Linked DNA regions of Homo sapiens: regions 1 and 3 are each linked to region 2. The links are contacts of gene promoters, found by promoter capture Hi-C in human tissues and cell types (Jung and others, 2019). All regions are on one chromosome and are shown on one strand. The core of a region is centred on a gene start or on the middle of the fragment in contact, and the rest is flanking DNA. Distances in the headings are between cores, read along the strand shown.

Evidence for each region. The method cuts DNA at HindIII sites, captures the fragments that hold promoters and counts their contacts. A contact is called where the count stands out against the background at its distance.
Region 1: a contact is called between a fragment that was not itself captured here and the fragment with the promoter of ZNF264 in region 2, in 2 of the 25 tissues and cell types used here (heart left ventricle and pancreas).
Region 3: the fragment with the promoter of ZNF773 here is called in contact with the fragment with the promoter of ZNF264 in region 2 in 1 of the 25 tissues and cell types used here (adrenal gland).

The regions. Positions count from the first base shown.
Region 1 is chr19:57,654,849-57,658,496 of GRCh38, forward strand. It overlaps a transcript of ZSCAN4 not described here. Among named protein-coding and RNA genes, the nearest start is that of ZSCAN4, 12 kb to the right of the region's middle. The HindIII fragment of the contact is 8,692 bases long and covers 1-3,648 here.
Region 2 is chr19:57,190,028-57,193,475 of GRCh38, forward strand. It overlaps ZNF264 (zinc finger protein 264), which reads left to right and starts at 1,473. Exons shown (of 4, transcript NM_003417.5): 1 at 1,473-1,919. The coding sequence starts at 1,887. RefSeq lists enhancers at 1,309-1,368, 1,389-1,478, 1,489-1,548 and a silencer at 1,719-1,988. The HindIII fragment of the contact is 13,408 bases long and covers 1-3,448 here.
Region 3 is chr19:57,497,308-57,501,192 of GRCh38, forward strand. ZNF773 (zinc finger protein 773) reads left to right here and starts at 2,631. Exons shown (of 4, transcript NM_198542.3): 1 at 2,631-2,806. The coding sequence starts at 2,774. The HindIII fragment of the contact is 9,164 bases long and covers 1-3,885 here.

The DNA.
Region 1 (3,648 bases), core at 444-2,943, 470 kb after region 2:
CACAGGGGGGCTGGAATAGCCCCTGCTTATTTGGACAGGCCCTCACCAGGGACCTGGCTAAACTTCCCCTTGCTCCTAGCACCCTCCTCCAATACATCAATAACACCCTTCTCTGTAGCCCCTCCCTTAACCTATCTATCCATCCAACACATCATTCAGCTTCTAAACTTTCTCCATTCTTGGGGATATTAGGTCTCACTCACAAAGGCTCAAGTAACCCAACCCCAGGTTACCTACCTTGGACTTATCCTAATCCCTAATATTCAGGCCATACCAACCCAATGGAAGAAGCTAATCCGGGATATGCCCCTTTCTCATACAAAGAACCTCCTTTCCTTCTTGAGCCTTGTGGGATACTTCTGGCTATGGATTCCCAACTTGCTGACCAAGCTGCTGTACACCACATCACGTGGGCCCATCCTAGAACACCTGGATCCAGTCTGTACCATTGACTCCCAGTTCAAAAAACTGAAAAATGCCCTTTCAATGTCGCCAGCACTGGGACTACCCAACCCCAACAAGCCCTTTACTCTGTATGTTCATTCTAACCAAGGCCTTGTTCTTGGGCTACTCTGTCAAACATTCAGCGGTACCCCACAAGCCATTGTATATCTCTCAAAACAACTGAACTCAGTCATCTAAGGTTGGCCACCCTGTTTAAGGATCTTATGTGTGTCTATGCTGCTGGCCTCAGAAGCTCAAAAACTCACCCTCTATCAATACATTACCATTGCACCTTCTCATAACCTACAGGAACTCATGAGTCATTGCTCCCTTCTTTCCCTCCTGCTATCTTACTTACAACAAACACACACCTCCTACATAAACAACCTTCTAATCACCTACCAAAGATGTAAAGTTCTCAACCCAGCCACCCTCTTCCCTATAAGGACCTTTGACTCTGAACTCTGTCACTCCTGCTTGGACTTTTTAGATTCCCTTTCCTTCCCTTTCCGACACATATCAGAGACCCCCTTACAGGGGACACCTACATGGTTCATTGATGGGAGCTCCTTTAAAGAGCCATGTCTTGCAGCAGGCTACACCATCGTTGCCAAACACAAGCTCCTAGAGTCCAATACTGTCGCATCCCCTACCACCTCCTAACAGGCAGAATTAGTCGACCTAACTAGGGCCCTCACCCTAGCAATAGGAAAAAGGGTCAATATTTACACTAACTGTAAGTATGCATACCACATTCTACACTCCCAAGCCTTAATCTCACAGGAAAGAGCTTTTCTTAGTACCAAAGGGACCTGCATAGTAAATGGCAAACTGATACACAGGTTGCTGGAGGTAGCTAAACTACCATTAGAGGCCACCATTATCCATTGCAATGGACACCAGAGAGCTACAGATGCCATAACCAAGGGAAACATTATGGCAGACTCAGCAGCCTGGCAGGTGGCCCACAACATCCCATCACTGTTGTCCATTTTCCCAGCAGACATCCCTCATACACCCAGGAGGAACAAGTCAAACTAACACTGGGGCTACCCAAAGGGAAGGCTGATGTTATCTTGACACAAACTCATCCTGCCCAAATCTCAAGAACTCTCTATTCCCTCCCACATCCACAACCACTTCCATGCTGGTTATTACCACATACCCCAGTTTTTAAAAACTTACACACACTCCACCACCATGACAACCAACCTTGAATGTTTAACCAGTCTGCCCAGTTTGTGGTCAGACTTCCCCTGAAGGGGCTCTTAAACCACCTCCTTTCTCCACTCATCAGGCATGAGGCCATTTCCCAGAACAGGACTGGCAAGTTGACTTCACCCATATACCCCCTGTAAAAAAAGGAAAGGGCCAACTACAGCCTGGGAAAAATATTTGTGAAACCTCTATCTAATAAATGATGAGTATTCAGAATACGTAAAACATCCCTACAAATAGCATAAACAACACAATTTAAAAATAGGCAAAAGTTCAAGACCAGCCTGGGCAACATGGCAAAACACTGTTTCTACAAAAATTAGCTAATAAGCTGGGCATGGTGGTGTGTGCCTGTGGCCCCAGCTACTTGGGAGGCTGAGATGGAAGGATCACTGATTCCAGGGAGGTCGAAGCTTCAGTGAGCTATGATCAAATCACTGCACTCCAGCCTGGGCAACAGGGTGAGATATCATAGCTGTAATTCCAACGCTTTGGGGGGCTGAGGAAGGCGGATCACTTGAGGACAGGAGTTCAACATCAGCCTGGCCAACATGGTGAAACCTCGTCTCTAGTAAAAATACAAAAATTATCCGGGAGTGTCCAGGAGTGGTGGCAGGCACCTGTAATCCCAGCTACTCAAGAGGCTGAGGCAGGAGAATTGCTTGAACCCGGGAGGCAGAGGTTGCAGTCAGCTGAGATCGCGCCACTGTACTCCAGCCTGGGCAACAAGAGTGAAACTCCGTCTGCCCTCCGTCTGTCTGCAACAGAGCTAGACTCCATGTCAAAAAAAAAAAAAAGGCAAAATATTTGAACACATTTTTCACTAAAGATGATATATGAATGGTATATAAATGCATGAAAATAAGTTCAGAATTATTACTATTTAAGGAACTACAAATGAAAACCACAATGAGATACCACTACATACTCATTTTGATGAGTAACATTAACCGAATGATCACACCTAGCTGTTGAAGGTATGAAATAAACTGGAGCTCTCATACATTGCTGGTGGAAATGCAAAATAAATAAATTTGGAAAACACTGTAGCCGTTATTAAAGTTAGTTGTCCACTTATCATTTGATAAATTAATCTCATTCCTAAGTATAACCTCAAGAGATGGAAACGTGTCCATAGAAATACTTGTATAATCATTCCTCAGTATCCATGGGGGACTGATTCCAGGACCCCCAAGGATACCAAAACCTGAAGATGTTCTAGTCTCTTATATAATATGATGTGGTATTTGCATATAACCTGTGTATATCCTCCCACATAATTTAAATTATAATTTAAATTACTTATAATACCTAATACAATGCAAATGCTGTTTAAATAGTTGCTATACATTGTCACCTAATACAGTGTAAATGCTGTTTAAATAGCTGCTACACAATAGTTGTATTGTTTAGGGAGTAATGACCCAAAAAAGGTCTGTGCATGTTCAGTACAGATGCAATTTTTCTTCCAAATATTCAATTTGCAGTGGGTTGAATCTATAGATGCAGAACCCATGGATATAGAAAGCCAACTGATTTTGCGTGTTATCAACAATTTTCTTCAAAGCTAAAGACTGGAAAACAAAAACAAATGTCTATGCACATCTGAATGGGTAACTGTGTTACATTTATAAATAGAATATTCCTCATAAATGTCAAGGAGGGAAAAAAACATTAATCTGAATCTCAAAAGCACAAGTGAAGGAACCAAACTCAGAGGTCTATACAGAGTAAAATTTCTTTCAGATAAAAATCTAGAAATGGTAAAACTCAAGTGGCAAAATGCAAATGAGTGATCCTCAGATCTGGGCCTAGGAGGAAGGGGCGGACTGCAAAGGGCAGAAGAGTACATAGGGTGAGGAGAACCTTCTCTATCAGGATTGTGGTAGTGGTTACATGCTGTTTATATTTGTCAGCACTCATCAAATTATACACTGGAAATTGGGGATCATCCTATTTGTATTATACTGCACTAAATTTGTTTAA
Region 2 (3,448 bases), core at 223-2,722:
ACCCCTCCTCAGCATAAAGCAGCCAGAAAGATCACGTCCAGATTCCCCATGATTGAGGAATTGATAAATAGAAACAGGGAACTGAAACCAGCTCCAGTGTCCCATAGAACTGATATTTATGGTTTCTTTTGAATCAACACATTATAGACATTGAGCCTCCCCTTCCTAAAACTCGAGACACTTTTATTTGTCTTATCTGATTTCCTTTCTCAGGAAACCAAGCATCAGGCCTCCCAGATAGTATAAAGAAACTGAAACTTACTGGATTACCACATCTGGAAAAACGAGATGCTATACCCCTTACCCATGATGATTGCCTAACTGACCATCTGCTGCCTGTTGACCCATTCCTCTTCCTTACCCCTTCCTAATTCCTGTTTTCTCAAACATAGTTACACTTCTTCCCTGATGTATAAACCCCTAGTTTTAGTCAGTTGAGGAAAGAGATTTGAGATTGATCTCCCATTTTCCTCAGCTGCAGCACCGAATAAAGCCTTCATCCCTGACAATACTCATTGTCTTGCTGACTGGCCTTCTGTGCAGCAAGCAGCAGGATCTAGATGCAAGGACCTGGCCTTTCTGGTAATATTGTCATCAACCATTTAATGATGTAGACTTGGTCCCCGGCTCATGCTCTGTGTATTTTCTTCTCCATCTACATGCATTGCCTTGATGGTCTCACTCAATATCATGACTTGAAATAACAGTGTAAGGTAACTCCTAAATTCATATATTCATGCTCAAACCTTCTTCCAACATTCAGTCGTAAGTCGAATTGCCTGTGACAGAGATACTTTGTGGTTCTGTAGACATTTCAAACTAACCATCCTGAGCCTCCGAACCTCCTCCACTTGCAGCCTCCCCACCTCAGAAGTGGGCAAATCCACTTTTTGTGTGGTCTGGGCCAAATACATGACTCCCTGCATCACGTAGAGGCTGTGCTGGTCCAAAGAAGGCTCAAAAGAGGGCAGTTTGCGCACACAACGTGTCGGGGCAGGGCTTCCAGATGATCATTCGGCTTTTTTGTGTCTTCCAAGATGATGATCCGGGGAGGAGGGATGTGAAAGGGGGTCAGTCGCCAGGCGAGCTGAGGACCCAGTTCTGCGCCTTTGCCTGTGCCCTGACCTGAAGGAAAGTCCCTGTCTCCCGAGCTCCGATTTTCCCGAGAGAAGAATGCAATGTAACCCTTGCCCCTCGGTTCCCTCCCTCCATCCTTCCCCTCGAGTTGTGCCCACCGTAAAGAGGTGGGTCTGGAGCGTCTCCTCGGGTCCTGGAGTGCCTTTCCCTGGGAGGAAAACTTGCGCCGTGAAGCGTTCCTCCCGTTGTTGAACACATGAGGAAAACTACACTACTTAGAAGGCTGTGCATTATGCGTACGGCGGGAGCTGGGCCAACGACGGCCTAGGACGGGGACGTTTCCGACGGCTCACGCCGGTGGGGGCGGGACTTCCGGGTTGCTCGCTGCGGACGCCATTTTCTTCTGCACTTCTGTCTGGAGAGGTCTGTAGCCACTGAGGGCCCCGGTCGGGGCCGCTTTGCAGGTCCCTAGTCAGGACCGAGCAGGGGAGTAGGATAGGAATCCCCGCCGCACCTTTGTACGAGCCTGACCCCTTCCGTGGGTTTGTTCCTGGGTCGCCGTCAAGCTGCGGTCTCTCCTCCCCCGCCCTTCAGCCCCGCGGTCTCCAGGGGCGGCGCCCTGGGTCTGGAACGCGGTTGCCACCGAGGAGGCGGCGGCCCTGCGTCTGGAACGCCGTTGCCACCGAGGAGGCGGCGGCCCCGAGCGCGCCTGGAAGCCCCGGGCAACCGGCCAGGGTCGGGCACAGGTGGGGTCCGTCAGGCCGCCCGGGGCTCCTCTGTCCCAGCTCTGCGGCCCAGGGGGTGACGTGATGGCGGCAGCGGTGCTGACGGACCGGGCCCAGGTGAGTGGACGGTGGCTTCGCGGTTGCCGCTTCCTTGCCAGCGCTGAGGCGGTTTCCGAAGTGGGTGGGAGCCCAGGTATCCCCTGGATTTGTCTTCGCAGTCGTCGTTCGCTTTGGTGTGTGGAGCTGGTTTGCCACTTAATTTATACCTGGCCGTAAGGAGTGTTGGGCCTACTGGAAGGAGCTCCGTAGGTTGTTGAGTGAATGATGCTTCCTCTGGGGACTCCCATCATCCTTGGCCTGCAAGCATTCTCTGGTGGACCAGGTCTCATTCCAGCATGAATTGGGGGCCTGAGGGGGGAAGGGGAGGGCAGGGCAGTAGCAAGCCGACAAATGCGCGAGCAGAGACAAGGTATGTTGTATGTTTAAGGAGGCTCAGGAGGGTGTGTAAGGTTGCCATGGTTTTCCTGCGGCCGCTGAGACGTGGAGGGCAACAGTGTGTGGTCTTTTCCTGGATGTTCTAGCCATCCGCAACTACTGCAGACATTGTGGCCAGTCAGATGCCCTTACTCTCATCGCTACAGCCTGCATTATCCTTGGCCGCTCGTGTTCCGTGGCCCCAAAGTATCCTGGCGTCAGAGACAAGTTCTGTCGGAACCCAGTAAGGAAAGAGGCCGATGGTTGGTTCATTGTGGAATTTCCTTGGGGGATCTGGGAGACCCAGGGAGATCCCAGAGGGCATGGGAAGCTGGTCTGGAGCCTGTCGTTCCCCAAGTAGATGCAGCCCTTCCAGTGCCGCTCTGTGGGGTCAGTGAGGAATGCTGAGCTTTTTGTGCCCGTGTTCACATACTTTTTTTTGTTTTGAGACAGGGTCTCACTCTGTCGCCCAGGCTGGAGTACAGTGGTGCACTCTCAGCTCACTGCAGTCTCTGCCTCCCAGGTTCAAGCAATTCTCCTGCCCCAGCCTGCCGAGTAGTTGGGATTACAGGCATGCACTACCACACCTGACTGATTTTTGTATTTTAGTAGAGACTGGGTTTCACCATATTTGCCAGGCTGGTCTTCAACTCCTGGCCTCAAGCGATCCGCCCACCTCGACCTCCCAAAGTGCTGGGATTACATGCATGAGCCACCATGCCCGGCCCACAGATACGTTTTTCAGGGCTAATTGAAATAGACTTAATGTTAGAAATGAGTGGAAATGCTTATAACTTCATCGCATTAGATTTGCTTTGATGTTGGGGGAGTGTTGGAGTTACACTGTTAGACCGTGAATCATAGTAACCCCATGTTTAGATCCTATCTATGGTGGTGAGATGTGTGACTGGGTGAATTGATAGCGCTTCCTTAGCATGAAGTCATTGACTGTGAAGGTGATGATGGTGTTGACTGCAGGGACTGTGAAAGGATTAATAAAAATCCCAGAGCACACTGAGCATTGAATACTTTAAATTTAACAACTGTTACTGGTGGGAAGTGTTATTGTATTGATCCAGAAATCAAGGCTCAGAGAAATGAAATGCTGTCTTTGAGGTAAGAGCTGTCAAGTGTCAGTTTCAAGTGTTTGGAGCTAGGAACTTCTAGTCACT
Region 3 (3,885 bases), core at 1,381-3,880, 310 kb after region 2:
ACATTAAACAAGGCATAAATAAATGACACAAGAAGTTCCTGAATCTGAGACTTAATACTTTGAAGTTGTCAGTTTTCCTTTAACTATCCTAATAAAAACCTAATCTTTTAAATAAAAATTTACAAATGTATTCTAAAAAGTTACATGGAAATACAAAGGGCCTGGACTAATTGCCAAAACAATTTTATAAATAAGAATAAGTTTGAAAATCTTTATGACTTTAGGACATACAAACGTACAGTAATTGAGAGTACAGTATTAGCTAAAGGACAGAGATGAACAGAAGAGAACAGAGAACCCAGAAATACACTCACACAACACTCTATTGTCAATCTCTTTTCAAGAAAGTTGCAAAAGTAGTAAAACAACTTCAGAAAACAGTGTAGCAGCTTTAAAGGTAGCATAAGCTTACCATATAGTTTAGGAATCTTACCTATTGGGATATCCCCAAGAGAACAAAAGCATATGTTCTAGAAATACTTACACTTGCATGCTCAGCAGTTTTATTTATAAAACCCAAACACCAGAATTTGTTTTTAAAACACACACACACAAACTAAAATTTCCGTGAACAGAAGAATGAATAATCAATTATGGTATATCTTAACATAAAATACCATTCAACAACATAAAAGAATAAACTATGAATACAAGTAAAAATATCATAGATAAATCTGAAAATCCCTGAGCCAAGTGGAAGAAGCCAGACACAAAAGTTGACATACAGTATGATTCCATTTATATGAAATGAAGAAGCTGCAAAACTAGAGTAAAAGAATGCAGATCACTGGTTATTGAGCCTGCGGTCTGAGGGGGAAGGTTCTGACTGAAAGAGTACAGGAAAACGTTATCAGGCAATGGTAATTTTCTCTATCATGACTGTGTTGGTGGTTTCATGACAGTACAGCTGACCCTTAAATAACACAGGTTTGAAATGCACAGGTCCAATTATATGTGAATGTTTTTCAATAAATATACTGGAAAAAATTTTTGAATATTTGAGACAATTTCAAAAAACCAGAATTCATTGAAATAGGTATGCCAAGAATGCATAACACAAAATATATGTAGGTTCTATTTTATCATTACAAAACCAGAGCGATATTTTCTTTTCTTTTTTTTTGTTTTTGAGACGGATTCTCTCCCTGTCGCCCAGGCTGGAGTGCAGTGGCATGAACTCCACTCACTGCAAGCTCCACCTCCCGGGTTCATGCCATTCTCCCGTCTCAGCCTCCCGAGTAGCTGGGACTACAGGCACCTGCTACCACACCCGGCTAATTTTTTGTATTTTTTAGTACAGACGGGGTTTCACCGTGTTAGCCAGGATAGTCTCGATCTCCTGACCTTGTGATCCACCCGCCTTGGCCTCCCAAAGTGCTGGGATTACAGGCGTAAGCCACCACCTCCCTACTCTTTCTACCCAATAAATATGAAGGTCTGTGGAAGCTCAGGGCCCTTCCTCACTAGAAGCAAGAAGCCCCCTGACCCCTTCTTTAAAACAGATTTATTTTGCCTTTGTTTTCATTTCTGCATTCGTTCCCCTTCGTTCAGTCCCATAGTAACTGTGACAGGAATATGGAGCAGAAATGGATGAAGGGGAGAAATTGAGGGGGAGTTGGCTTATGGGTTTGCTGCCTGTTGTTGTGCCTTTACACCAATGTTGGGTCCTTGAGGAAGGAAAGAACACAAATGAGAATGGGGTGAAAGAGGAACGTAAATCCTTGGGCTCCCCTACTCTCTCATCACCTACATCCAGAATTCAGAGCCTTTTCTTATTATCATACATCAGGCATTAATATTGGGTGTCCCCTTGCCAAAGGAAATTTAGGAAGGTATACGTGGCTTTGCCCAGTGAAACCTCTTTATGGTGGCCCTGAAGATCCTCTTCAAGTCCTTCAAAAGAAGGAAAGATTGGAGTATCAGCTGCAGGAAACTGAAATCCAGGCCCATCTCCAATTACAACAGGTTCCAGATGAGTCCGAGAGTTCTCGACACTCATTTCTCCTCCATCTCCTACTCCATCATCTCCATCTCCATCTTCTCCATCATCTCCATCTTCATCATCATCTCCATCTCCATCATCTCCATGTCCATCATCATCTCTATCTCCATCATCTCCATCTCCATCATCTCCATCTCCATCATCATCTCTATCTCCATCATCATCTCTATCTCCATCATCTCCATCTCCATCATCTCCATCATCTCCATCTCCATCTCCTACTCCATCATCTCCATCTCCATCTTCTCCATCATCTCCATCTTCTCCATCATCTCCATCTTCTCCATCATCTCCATCTTCATCATCTCCATTTCCATCATCTCCATCTCCATCATCATCTCTATCTCCATCATCTCCATCTCCATCATCTCCATCATCTCCATCTCCATCTCCATCTCCATCATCTACCGTCTCCAATCTCCATCTCCGAAGTTATGCCCACTTCCTCGAAGTTTGGAGCCACGCGAACTACACTGCCCAGAAGGCGCCGCGCCGTGAGCCGCGATGCTTGGCCAATGAAAAGAGGTCTACCCGAGAGTGCGACGCGCAATGGGCGGGACTTCCGGCGTCTCCCCTCGGCGGTTGCTTTCGCTGCCCTCAAGAGAACTCAGCTTGCCGGAAGCTGGTTGTTCGCTGCGGCGACCAGCTCCGGAAAGCGCGGTGGGGACGCGCTGTGTTCTCGCAGCTCAGAGGCGGGTCTGAGGCTCGGTGGCGGCGCCCAGGGTGGCCCGGGCCCTTTCCTCGGTCGTTGTCTCACCGCCACAGGCTCCGATGGCGGCGGCCACGCTGAGGGACCCCGCTCAGGTGAGCGCCGCGTCCTCCCGGCCTCCCCCGAATCCTAAAGCCCTGTGAGGGCCGCCTGCTCAGGTCCCCGGGTGCAGAACTGTGGGGCGTTCGTGGGCGGCGTCCCGTTTCTGACACGCAGTGTGATGGGGTGGCAATGGAGGGCAAGGGGCCCGGCTCGCAAAGATGTGAGGCGCATTCAGCGAGTCCCGAACCTGAGGCCTCCTGGTGTCTGTAGTGGGCAGCTTGGGAAGGGACGAGGCGCGTGTCGAGCGACAGCCCGAGCAGCTGCGCTTTCATCCTGAGGGGGCCACAGTGGCCGCGGAGGGCTGGAGACAGAAGAGTGACAAGATCTGTTTCTCAAAGTTTGCCAAAGGCCCTTCAAGTCAAAACAGACTGGGGTGGGGGTGAGGCGGGTGAAGACAGACCTGTGAGTAGGTAAATTCAGTAGACTAGTGGAGAGTCTACTGGGACTGGGCCACAGAGGAGGGGAAGTGATCAGATCTTGGATGGATTTCAAAAACTGAACAGACGGGAATTCCTGTTGCATCAGATGTGACTGTGAAAGAAAGTAGGGAATGAAGAGCCATTCTGGATTTTTATTTGTATTTTTGTTTGTTCCTGAATATCAGGAAGGATGGAGATGGGTAAGGCTGTGCAGGGAATAGGTTTTGGGCATGGTGATCCTGAGATGTCCCAGAGTGGAGGTGTCATGTCCACATGAGCAGCTGGAAGGCCTGGGGCTCGTATTTAGGAGGGAGAATCTTAAAGTTTTCTTTCAGATGGTCCCTGAGGTGAGGGAAGGGAGAGATGGGCCTGTAGGATGGGGCAGCCTCTACAGCCTGGAGTTTCGTGGTCCGAAGTGATTTTGTCTGGTGCCTGCAGGAATGGAGGGTTATAGAGTATGAACACCCAGGACTGGATGGAGACCGCAGTGTTGGGTAGTATATAGGTTTGCCACTCCAGGCTTAGTAGTTCCTCATGTCCAGTCCATATGGAGAAAAGGAAAGGTCAGCCAGGCTGGTGGAGCAGCACCTTTGGTGCCTAAGTTTCCCTAGCTATCAGCACAGGTGGGATGATCAACTGCTCCAGTAGAAGGG